Regions from separate parts of the Homo sapiens genome. Here regions 2 and 3 are each linked to region 1. The links are contacts of gene promoters, found by promoter capture Hi-C in human tissues and cell types (Jung and others, 2019). All regions are on one chromosome and are shown on one strand. Each heading gives the region's core, a stretch centred on a gene start or on the middle of the fragment in contact. The rest is flanking DNA. Distances are from core to core; before and after follow the strand shown. Region 1 holds the start of PIK3CD (phosphatidylinositol-4,5-bisphosphate 3-kinase catalytic subunit delta). Region 2 overlaps CTNNBIP1 (catenin beta interacting protein 1). Region 3 holds the start of CLSTN1 (calsyntenin 1).

Evidence for each region. The method cuts DNA at HindIII sites, captures the fragments that hold promoters and counts their contacts. A contact is called where the count stands out against the background at its distance.
Region 2: a fragment that was not itself captured here is called in contact with the fragment with the promoter of PIK3CD in region 1 in 2 of the 25 tissues and cell types used here (dorsolateral prefrontal cortex and mesenchymal stem cells).
Region 3: the fragment with the promoter of CLSTN1 here is called in contact with the fragment with the promoter of PIK3CD in region 1 in 5 of the 25 tissues and cell types used here (IMR-90 fibroblasts, adrenal gland, bladder and 2 more).

Annotation. Positions count from the first base shown.
Region 1 is chr1:9,649,951-9,653,500 of GRCh38, reverse strand. It overlaps PIK3CD (phosphatidylinositol-4,5-bisphosphate 3-kinase catalytic subunit delta), which reads right to left and starts at 1,770. Exons shown (of 24, transcript NM_005026.5): 1 at 1,699-1,770. It overlaps PIK3CD-AS1 (PIK3CD antisense RNA 1), which reads left to right. Exons shown (of 2, transcript NR_027045.1): 2 at 1-891. RefSeq lists an enhancer at 718-787 and a silencer at 968-1,857. The HindIII fragment of the contact is 15,008 bases long and covers 1-3,550 here.
Region 2 is chr1:9,889,489-9,893,038 of GRCh38, reverse strand. The region is part of intron 1 of CTNNBIP1 (catenin beta interacting protein 1); the gene reads left to right. Among named protein-coding and RNA genes, the nearest start is that of CTNNBIP1, 19 kb to the left of the region's middle. The HindIII fragment of the contact is 3,526 bases long and covers 1-3,045 here.
Region 3 is chr1:9,822,043-9,825,592 of GRCh38, reverse strand. It overlaps CLSTN1 (calsyntenin 1), which reads left to right and starts at 1,628. Exons shown (of 19, transcript NM_001009566.3): 1 at 1,628-1,950. The coding sequence starts at 1,860. RefSeq lists silencers at 1,367-1,426, 1,447-1,496, 1,667-1,816, 1,827-1,906 and an enhancer at 1,038-1,754. The HindIII fragment of the contact is 7,682 bases long and covers 1-3,550 here.

The DNA.
Region 1 (3,550 bases), core at 521-3,020:
CCGCAAGCAACGGCACCCCCAGATGATTAAACGCGCTGGCGTCGGAAAGAGCTGGGATCCTGGAGAAACTACTTGTAAACTGTGTGGGTTGGTGAGTTATTTAACTTTTCTGAGCCTTCGTTTCCTTAACTGTAAAATGAAGACAACACCACTCAGCTCCTACAGTTGTCCAGCTGAAATCACCTAGGTAAGAACGACCAGTTCTTTGGGGAGTAATGTCCCGATGGTACCATTCAATTGTCAAGAACACCAAGGCACCGTCAGGCACCCGGGCGGTATCCCACTCTCCTGGAAGAGAGCAGGGGGTTAGCCCTTGGTTTCAAAGTCCCTAGGGAGCAGTAAACCTTCCCCTCCGAGAGCCCTGAGAGAGGAATAATTGCCCCTTCCCACTCCAACCCACGGCACACCCGCCCACATCCACGTGCGGCTGTGCCCAGCATCTCAGAGGTAGGACTTCTCAGGAATCGGCGGGAAGAAGCCCCCTTGATGGAGTCTGGTGGGGTTCAAGATCTGCAGGTCCCACCTTCCAGGGAACACCTGCACAAGTGAGACCTGCCCGATCAGCCCCGCGCTCCATCCGCAAACTGGGCAGATCCCAAGGGTGCCACGCGAGGACCCTGCACCTTGGCCGCTCCAGGGCGCCCCCCACCCGCGACCCCGGAAATCTCGCCCCTACCTGCTTCACCCTCGCCCCACCCACAGCGCACTTTTCGGGACCTCCCAGCGGCCCTTCCCCGGTTCTCTGGACCCCCGTCTCCCCGCCCTGCAACGCCCCCATCCTGGTGCCCACGAAAGGTCGTCCCAGTTCCCCTCTTCTCTACCTCAAAGGAGGAGGTGCAAATGAGGAAGCCTAAATAAAAACAGGAAACTCGATTTTTTTAAAAAGCCTCATTCAGGCTGAATTACGGGTAAGAGTATTTTTTTAAAAAGTCCGGAAATGCAAAGCTGGGGGCGGTTTTGCCGGCGTAACCCCGGCTCGGCCGCAGATCCGGAGCTGATCTCGCCTGCGCCGCTGCAGCAAACGCGGCGAGCAACGCGGGAGGCCCGGGACTGGGAGGCGGGGCGCGGGTCCACGAGCCGGGAGGAAGCCCCGAAAACTTCCACCCCGGCCCCTCTGCAGCCCCGCTCCCCACTTGCCCAGGCTGGGAAGGGCGCACAGGACCCGGGCGCCGGCGAACTGTGCGCAGCCCTCTCTCCGCGCCAGGGCACTCGGGCGACATCACCAGCGCGCTCTCTGTGGACCCCGCTGCCGTACAGAGGAGGCCCCTGGTCCTCTAGTCAGCGCTCGGAGCGGGCGCACGCGCTGAGCGCTTCCAGTATCCTCGCGCCTCAGCCGGCGCACCGGAGGCCGCACCGCCGCTGTGAGCGCAGCTGAAACCCCGCTGCCGGGCCAGGCGGGCAAGGCGCGCAGTGCAGGCGCCGGGGAGCTGCGCACGCCCCTCTCGGCGGGCCCACGGGGGACGGCCCCGGGCCTCTAGGGCAGCCCCCGCCCAGGTCCCAGCAGCCCGGCCCCCGGGGCTCCCAGGACCCGGCTCGCTAGACTCGGGGAGGCGCCCAGGGCCAGGGCGCACGGGCTGTGTGTGCCGGAGAGACGCCCGCCAGCCAGCCCCGCGCCCCCGAGCGCAGCCGCAGCTCCCAAAGCCCCTGGCCGCGGTCCTCTTCCCACCTCCCCTGACGCAGCCAGCGGCGATCGCTTACCGTCCCGGCGCAGCTGGCAGGGCTGGGCGGCTCTGCTCGCGGCCGCTCGGAGCGACTGCGCTGGGCGCGAGTGAGCCTCGAGGGAGGGAGGCGGGGCGCGCCGGGGCGCCCCGCCTGCCGCCAACCCGCACACTCCACTTCCCACTTTGTTTCCTTTTCACTTGCAACAGGAAAAACAACAGGTCCTCCAGGGCCTCGCCTTCCCCCGCCGCCCACACTCCCCAGTTCGCCTACCGCTAGAGGGGCATCATCCCAGGTGCCTCTGGAAGCTGCACCTTGCTTGCCCTTCTACAAAACAAGTTTTCTTTTTATGCAAAGGAAAACAACGAAATAAAGGTCCTAGGCGCCTTTAAGCGCTCCGCCTTCACGCAGGAAAGAATTTCAGCAGGAGCGGGAGAAAGGCTGAGAGCAGGAGAAGAAGAGGGGGTAACCTGCAGCTCTAGGCACCCAGGGACCCCAAGCGCCATTGCGAGGTGACCAGTGTTGGGGCTCAGGACACACACCCAAAATGTGACTATGGGAGACCAGCGTGTGCCACCCCAAAATATACTTCTTCGCCATATTTTGAAGGGATTATTCTTAGAAACTGCAGGCACAGGAGTAGATCTGAAAAGCTGTCCTTTTGTAAAATGATTTCTATCTATAAAGAAAATCTCCAGGCCTGGCACTGTGGCTCACTCCTGCAATCCCAGCAATTTGGGAGGCCGAGGCGGGAGGATCACTTGAGCCCAGGAATTCAAGCCAGCCTGGGCAACATAGGGAAACCCCCGTCTCTACAAAAAAATTAAAAATTAGCCAGTCGTGGTGGTGCACACCTTGTAGTCCCAGCTACTCGGGAGGCTGAGGTGGGAGGATGGCTTGAGCCAGGGAAATGGAGGCTGCAGTGATCCATGATGGCACCACTGCACTCCAGCCTGGGAAACAAAGTGAGACCCTGTCTCAAAAACAGAAAAGAAAAGGAAAATCTCCATTGGTAAAGTATTAGTATCAGGCGGAGGGCTGCTCAGAGCTAACTTTTCTTACCTGAGAAATTTTATCCGCATAAGAAGACAAGCTTCATTCACCTTACCCTCTCTCCCCTCACTCTCCCTTAACTTGTGTACCACCTCCCCAGGATCCCAAGCCTCTATTCCTTTTTTTCTTTTCTTTTCTTTCTTTTTCTTTTTTCTTTTCTTTTTTTTGAGACAGTCTTGCTCTGTTGTCCAGGCTGGAATGCAGTGGTGCCATCTCGGCTCACTGCAATCTCTGCATCCTGGGTTCAAGCAATTCTCCTACCTCAGCCTCCCAAGTAGCTGGGATTACAGGCACACGCCACGACACCCAGCTGATTTTCATGTTTTTTTGTTTGTTTTTTGTTGTTTTGTTTCTTTGTTTTGTTTATTTTGAGGAATCTTGTTCTGTTGCCCAGGCTGGAGTGCAGTGGCGTGATCTTGGCTCACCACAGCCTCAGCCTCCTGGGTTCAAGCAATTCTCCTGCCTCAGCCTCCTGAGTAGCTGGGACTATAGGTGCACACCACCGTGCCTGGCTAATTTTTGTATTTTTAGTAGAGGTGGGGTTTCGCCATGTTCACCAGGCTGGTCTTGAACTCCTGACCTCATGATCCACCCGCCTCAGGCTCCCAAAGTGCTGGGATTACAGGCGTGAACCACCACACCTGACCCAAGCCCTATTCCTTTCTGAAGGAATGTTTCCTGTCCCTTGTAGGATGTTATATGAGCTTTATTCATCTGAGCCTTCATCCAGTCTTGTATTTTGTGGGATTCCCATGCATAGGTCTTAGTTACACATGGTTTTTCTCTTGTTAATCTGCCTTATGTAAATTTAATGTGGAGCCCAGCCAAGGAATTTAGA
Region 2 (3,550 bases), core at 33-2,532, 240 kb before region 1:
GGAGTTTTTGTCCCGATACCGTTTCCCACAGTAAGTTAATGGGATAAACACATGGGAGATTCTGAAGGGGTCTTTGTTTAAAGCATTGTTGATTTTGATTATTGGCTTGTTAAACATTTGGAGAGGAAGGAAACTGAGTCCTCAACAGCCTCTTAGGGGGAGGTTTCCTCCTTCCTTGGATTATGTTTTGTTCCGAGGTAGCTGGAGGGGAAAGGATCAGGAAGGTCGCCTCCTGCTTAGTAGAGCAGAAGCAATCACCCAAACAAGCAAGCAGTGTGGCTCACGTGATGCGTGGAGCCAGGAACCCTGGCCTCTGTAGCACAGATGGGTGTATTTGCGAAGTAAACAGATACACCTATATCTTTATGCAAATTAACACATACCTTTATGCTGACAGCCTGTTGGAAAGAGGCAGTGGCCTTAAAACTTCTTTTCTTTTTTTTTTTTTGAGACAGTCTCGCTCTGTTGCCCAGGCTGGGGTGCAGTGGTGTGATCATAGCTCACTGCAACCTCAGACTCCTGGGCTCTTGGGATCCTCCCACCTCAGCCTCCCAAGTAACTGGGCCTACAGGTGCAAGCCACTGCACACCCAGCTAATCTTTTTTTTTTTTTTTTTTTAGACGGAGTCTCGCTCTGTCCCCCAGGCTGGAATGCAGTGGCGCGATCTCGGCTCACTCCAAGCTCTGCCTCCCGGGTTCACGCCATTCTCCTGCCTCAGCCTCCCGAGTAGCTGGGACCACAGGCACCCACCACCACGCCTGGCTAATTTTTTGTATTTTTAGTAGAGACGGGGTTTCACCGTGTTAGCCAGGATGGTCTTGATCTCCTGACCTCATGATCCGCCCGCCTCAGCTTCCCAAAGTGCTGGGATTAGAGGCGTGAGCCACCGCGCCCAGGCTGCACCCAGCTAATCTTTTAAAGATTTTTTGTAGAAGCCAGGCTCGGTGGCTCATGTCTATAATGCCAGCACTTTGGGAGGCTGAGGTAGGCAGATCACATGAGGTCAGGATTTTGAGACCAGCCTGGCCAACATGGCAAAACCCTGTCCCTACTAAAAATACAAAATAAAATTAGCTGGACATGGTGGCACGCACCTGTAGTCCCAACTACTCGGGAGGCCGAGGCAGGAGAATCACCTGAGACTGGAAGGCAGAGGTTGCAGTGAAACGAGATTGCGCCACTGCACTCCAGCCTGGGCGACAGAGGGAAAGAGCGAGACCCCATCTCCAAAAAAAAAAAAAAAAAAAAAAAAAAAAATTTAAAGAGATGGGGTCTTACTTTATTGCCCAGGCTGGTTTTGAAGTCCAGGCCTCAAGCAATTCTCCTACCTCAGTCTCCCAAAGTGCTGGGATTACAGGCATTTGCCACTGTGCCCAACAAAACTTATTTTCCGAAGAGTTTGATTGGGAAGCGTTTCCCCAGGAGGCTGCACCTGGGGTCTCTCAGCCAGGTCCTGAGGATGACCATCCCCAGAGCCGGGTGGTGAGGAGGGGGCTGCTTCCGGGGGCACAGTCCTGCAGCCGATCCAATTGATTTAATGACCTAATCCTCACCACAGGAAGCTGGAGGCTTTCCCAGCCCTGGGATTCTGAGGGGATGCAGCAAACTCAGTTCAGGAAGCTTGTTTGTTTGAACCAATTATAGAGGCTTTAATGAGGGAAAGCTATGGAGGGAATGGGGCAAGGGGAGAAGAGCTGGAGAGAGAGGTGCCTGTTGAGAAGATCTGGGTGACCCTCAGGCAATGGGAGGGCCGGGCCATGCCCAGGCCTGCCTCTGAGGATGAGGCTTGTCCTTGTGGGAATGGGGTGGCGTGAACATGTCAGTGTGGTTCAGAGTGAAGGGACCTTATGTACCTTGTGGAGAAACGTGAGTGCCCCCCACCCCCGCCAAAAATAGCACTGTGTCAGTTTTCCCCCTTTCTTCTTGAAGTACTTTTAAATTTCCTAATGTAATTAAAATTTTAAGCTGTGACCCTGCAAAGAGCTGGCATAGCTTTTGACAGCGGGATTGATGGAGCTTCCATAGGTCAAAATTTCCAGTCTGATCGCACTCTCTGGAGGTGACCCGCACTCTCTGGAGGTGACCCATGCTCTCCAGAACCTCTGGGCCAGGCTCCATCCCTGGAATTACTAGGTCTGGAAGTGGTCCCTTCCTGACAGAAATGCAAATTAATTTGCCTTTTGGGGACTTAGTCAGCTTGCTGGGGATCTCTCTGGTGTCCCAGGAGAGAAAAAGCGTTCCTCTACCTCCAGTTGACACAGAGGATCTTTTGATGCCTTTGCTCAGGAAGCTTCCTGCCAGGTGCACAGCCCATGGGGAAGGTCGGTCAGGCCTGGGAGGCCTCATACCCAGGAGTGAGGGGGCGCTTGTACCCATGCAAGAGCTAGGATTCCAGCCCTTCCATTGGCTTATAAATAGAAGAAGGCTCTGGATTCTGCATTAGTAACCCCTCTGGAACCTGCCAGAGGCTGAAGGTAATGAGTCAGACTGAATTAAAGGAAGATCCGTGGCTGGATTTTGTAGGCGTGCTGGTTCCTGACTTCAGGTCTCAGGCTCTGACTTGGCCAGGTTCCAGGGCTCCAGCTGTTCTCTGGGAAGAAAAAAGAACCTCTTTTAAAATTAAGCCGAAAGATGCCTTTCTTTTCTTCTGTCCTTGTCCCCCCACTGTGCAGAGAGAAAACCTCCACCAGCACGTCCCCTTGGTTAGAACAGTAGAGCCTGAAGACATAGCCCAGGATCTTCAGTGTTCTGGGGCAGCCAAGGAAACTTCCTCAGGCTCCACATGCCTTCCTGTTTGCATTGTTTTCAGCTGAATTTCAAGAGGCTGTCAGAGCAGGCCTGCCAGGTACTCTTGCCTCTGTAAAAAGGTGGGTTTCACTCAATTCAGGACTGGAGAGACAACGAGATCTGGGCCAGAATCACAAGGATAAATATTTTAAACCAGAAGATGTAAACAGATGCCTCATGCCAATCCAGTTATAGGAACATGCAGGTTCCTCCAGCTCCTTGGTGTGTTAGGATTATCTGAAGTGAGGCCATGCAAAGGCTGGGGGGCACTTCCTTCATGGTTCCCATTCACTTCACCACTCGAGGAGCCCCAGTTGTGGCTAGCAGTGGTGTCTCACCTGTCCAGATTCTTCAGCACAGAGCCTTACAAGTTTTTCTAGGGTCCACAAAAATATTGGCCATGTGGGAAAAAAATATATCACTCCCTCTACTCTTGTGAGTTACGTGAGGATTACATTTAATAAGAGATGTGGGTTTGTTTTAGTATGTCTCTGAGAATAAGGTTCCCTGGGGCCTATAAAGGCCTTAAAACCACCCCCGGTCTGTCCTCAAAGAGCTTCCAGTCTGGTGGTGAACATTTCTCAGATATCCAGGTACAGTGTTGGGGCGGTGATGCGAGAAGAGGAAATGCAGGCGGATGTGCAGACACAGGCCTCGAGGCAGCCCAGAGAAGGTGTTGTAGAGCAGAGAACATCTGTGAGGCTTGGTCTCAGGAATCAGGGAGGGAAGGAAGTTCTAGGTGGAAAGCATAGCAGATGCAGAG
Region 3 (3,550 bases), core at 379-2,878, 170 kb before region 1:
CAGAAGCAATGGCAACACCCGTCACCAGGGGAGAGGATGACTCAAAGCCTTGGCTGGAAGGAGTGGTGGGTGTGGCTTGGAGCCTGCCCGGGCCAGGCAGGTGCTTTGGGAAGGGTCCAGCCAAGGAGAGTCCGGTCTTCCTCCACGCAGGGGAGGGGGAGCAGGGGAAGGAAGGAGAGACATTAACAAGATGGAATCTGTAGGCTTTGGTGCAGGACGCTTACGGGGAACACGGCTCAGGGAGTTGGATTCCAGATTGCTTTTGAAGCCTTCCCCAGGTCACATCACACCGCTGTTCCCAGCCGTTCCAGGTCTTCCTGTTGACTGTAGGATCAAGTCCATTCCCCCAATCTGACCTCAGTCTACGTTTTTGGGCTCTTTGCCCACTAGTCTCCTAAATAAGTCCTCTGCGCCCCACAAACCAGTCTCCACCCAGCCTCCAGTGCTGCCAGCCTCCTCCACCCCCACCTGGAGCAGTGACATTCATGGATAGCTCCTCCAGCGGTCTCGAAAAATGAACATTTTAGGGTTCCACTTTTTGCTGTTGGTGTCCCCCTAATGCGAACATCCTGTCCTTGAGGGCTGATTCTTTTTACAATAGTTGTCCCAACGGGGGAAGTCATTTCACCTTTCTGACTTAGTTTCCTTATCTGCAAAATGGAGCCAGTAGTGTCTCATAGGGTACAGTGCCTGCACACACGCCCATCCACGGCTGTTCCAGGCCTTTCCTCCACTGCGGGGGGGTGCCAGGGGTCCAGAGGCGAGGAGGAGGGGGCCGCTGGACGCTGGGAAATTGGGAGGACCCCAAGATCCCTGTAGGGATCCACGGTAGAGGGGGAGGGCTTCTCTGTCCTCTCTATCCATTCGGACCTCCGCATTTCTAAGAACCAGCATCGCACCATGTCACTGAGAAAGAGCGCGCACACCAGCCGCCTTTTGAAAGTCACAAATAGATTCCTTCAGTGAATTCAGGACAGACTCCCCGGGGGCAGGTCCCGGGGCGGGAGCCGGTGTGGGTAGTGCTGCGCGGCCCTTAACTGTTTACCAGGCGCGTTTCGCTGACCTCGTCTCCTGGACCCCCTTTCGTGACCCCTCTCAACACCTCTACTGGGGAGACGAGGACCCCGAGGTTCTGGGGGGCGACGCGACCTGCCCGAAGTGACAAGGGTCCTGGGCCGCACTGCTCCGCCGGGGTCTGCGCTCCTCGGCGGAGCGGGTGGGAAGGATGAGTCCTCGGGGTGGAGAAGGAGGAGCGGGTCCCCGGGTACCGCTCACCCGGCCTTAGGAGCCCGGGAGCGCGCGTAGGGACGCGGAGTTGAGGCTCTCCATCTGCGGCCAGGGAAAGGGATACAGTCCCCCGGGCCCCTCCCGGCCGCTCGGAACCCACCCCAGGCGCGTCCCCGCGGGCGCGCGCTCCAGGCGGGGCCGACGGGCTCGGAGGCGCGCGCCCGCTGCCGGGTCCGCCGCGCGCGCTCCCTCCGCTCCTCTCCCCCGCCCCTCCCGGGCCCGCGCGCTCCCAGGGTCCGCCGCGCGCGCGCCTCGCGTCGCTCCCCATCCCCGCCCCTCCCGCCGCCACCCCGCCCCCGGCCGGGTACCCTCGCCGGACCCGAGAGAGAGCGCCGCCGCCATCTTAGTTGCTGCCGCTGCCTTCAGCAAGACGCTGCTCTGAGGCGGGGAGGGCGCCGCGTCCTGAGCGCGCGGCCCAGCGTCACGGCGGCGGCGGCGGCGGCTCCTCCTTGGACCCCCGGAGCTCCCCGCGCCGCGGAGCAGCTAGCCCCAGGCCCCTAGAGCCCCGAGAGCTCCGAGAGCTCCGCTCGGCGTCCCGCGCGCCTCCCTGCCGCTCCCGCCCCGGGCTGGCGATGCTGCGCCGCCCCGCTCCCGCGCTGGCCCCGGCCGCCCGGCTGCTGCTGGCCGGGCTGCTGTGCGGCGGCGGGGTCTGGGCCGCGCGAGGTAAGCCCCGGGGCTGGGCCGGGCCGCTGGGTCGGTGCGGGATTCGGGTCCGGGTGCAGGATTCGGGTCCCGGTGCGGGGATTCGGGTCCGGGTGCGGGAGTAGGGCCGGATGCCGGGATTCGAGCCGGGATGCGGGGAGTCGGGTCCGAGCGCAGGGAGCCGGGTCAGGGCGTGGGGTTCGGGTTGGGGGTCGGGCTCGCGGAGCCGGGGCCAGGGCGCAGGAGACTGTGGGCGCGCGCTGCAGGCGTCCCGGGGAAGCCAGGCTCCGTCCCGGGCGGGGCTCCTGAGCCTGGGCTGCCCCCACTGCAGCCCATGGTGGTGGCTGCGCTGATTTGGGGGAACGTGCAGACGGGCCGAAGGGTCAGTCCGCCCTGCTCAGCGGCGCACGCAGGCTGGGGCTGCACCCCTGGGTGAGATGCTCTGTGTACGTGTGCTCAGATGTGCATCAGGCGGGGGGTGCACGCACAGTTTTGGTGTGTGCTTACATAAGAGCCCACTCCTCCGCATCCCGTTTCCAAGATCCCGATTCTGTGTTGCTGCACCGCGGACACCACGACTTCGCCCCTTTCCGCCTCCTCCCAGAGTCCTTCAGACGTTGTCTGTTTCCAGTGGAGCCGAGGCTGAAACTTAGTGCTTCCCTCCCACCTTTTCACCCAAAGGTGAAATCGCGATGAGATTTGCGACCGCGGGCTCACCCAGTGTTAGAAATCTCCGTCTCTGCTACCCCTGGTGCCTTGGTGCTGTTTTTCTGACGGTCATTTAGACCGTGGAGGGTTAGATGTTCTCTACAAAAACGAGAAACCTCTCTGGTTTTTTAGGATTGTAGGACCGAAATTATTTTATGGCTCGGTGGGAAGTAGTATTTCTTGGCTAATTTATTATTAGCTTTTAACCTTCATCCACTTAACCTTTTAAACCTTGCATGCCTCTGCTATTGACTGGTCTTGCCAACGAAAAGCTTACGCATTGCAGATACAGTATTTGCTTCTGAGTGGATCTTGAAATCGTAAACATTTTCCTTGGCCTTAGAGCAGAGTAATCTAGGTGTAGTCTGTAGAATCTACTGTAGGCTTAAATCTGTTGTTCTGATTTTTTTTTAATCAAAAGAAATTTTGGGGAGGAGGATTGATAGAAATCTAGATGAAATGGTCATATTTGAATTTAGCAAGCTTTTTAAAAATTCTTATTTTCCCTTCCCTGGCGTGACATAAGGAGAGAAGTATGGTGTTCACGAATTAAAGGGCAGAGGCGGCAAATGCATCTTTTGTTCCATGTTCCTTTCTAAACATCGAGGATGATAAACTTTGAATACTTCTTTTATTTCATTTCTAACATTCTGTTGACTCTGTCAAATTCAGATCTTAGTCACTAAGTATCTCATTGCTGGCCATTTGATTTTTAAAAGTAACATCAAGCTAAGTTTGAAATGTTCTTTCCAGATGTGGGTTGGAGGTCTGAAACTCTAATATATCCAAGAGAAATGTCAAAAGTTTTGCTTCTCTTGGGGAAAACCCACACATTTTAAAAATATGTGCTTGGATTGGGTATTTTGGGAACAGTTTAAGTATATTTAGTCAGTGATACCATTTCTTGTTAAAA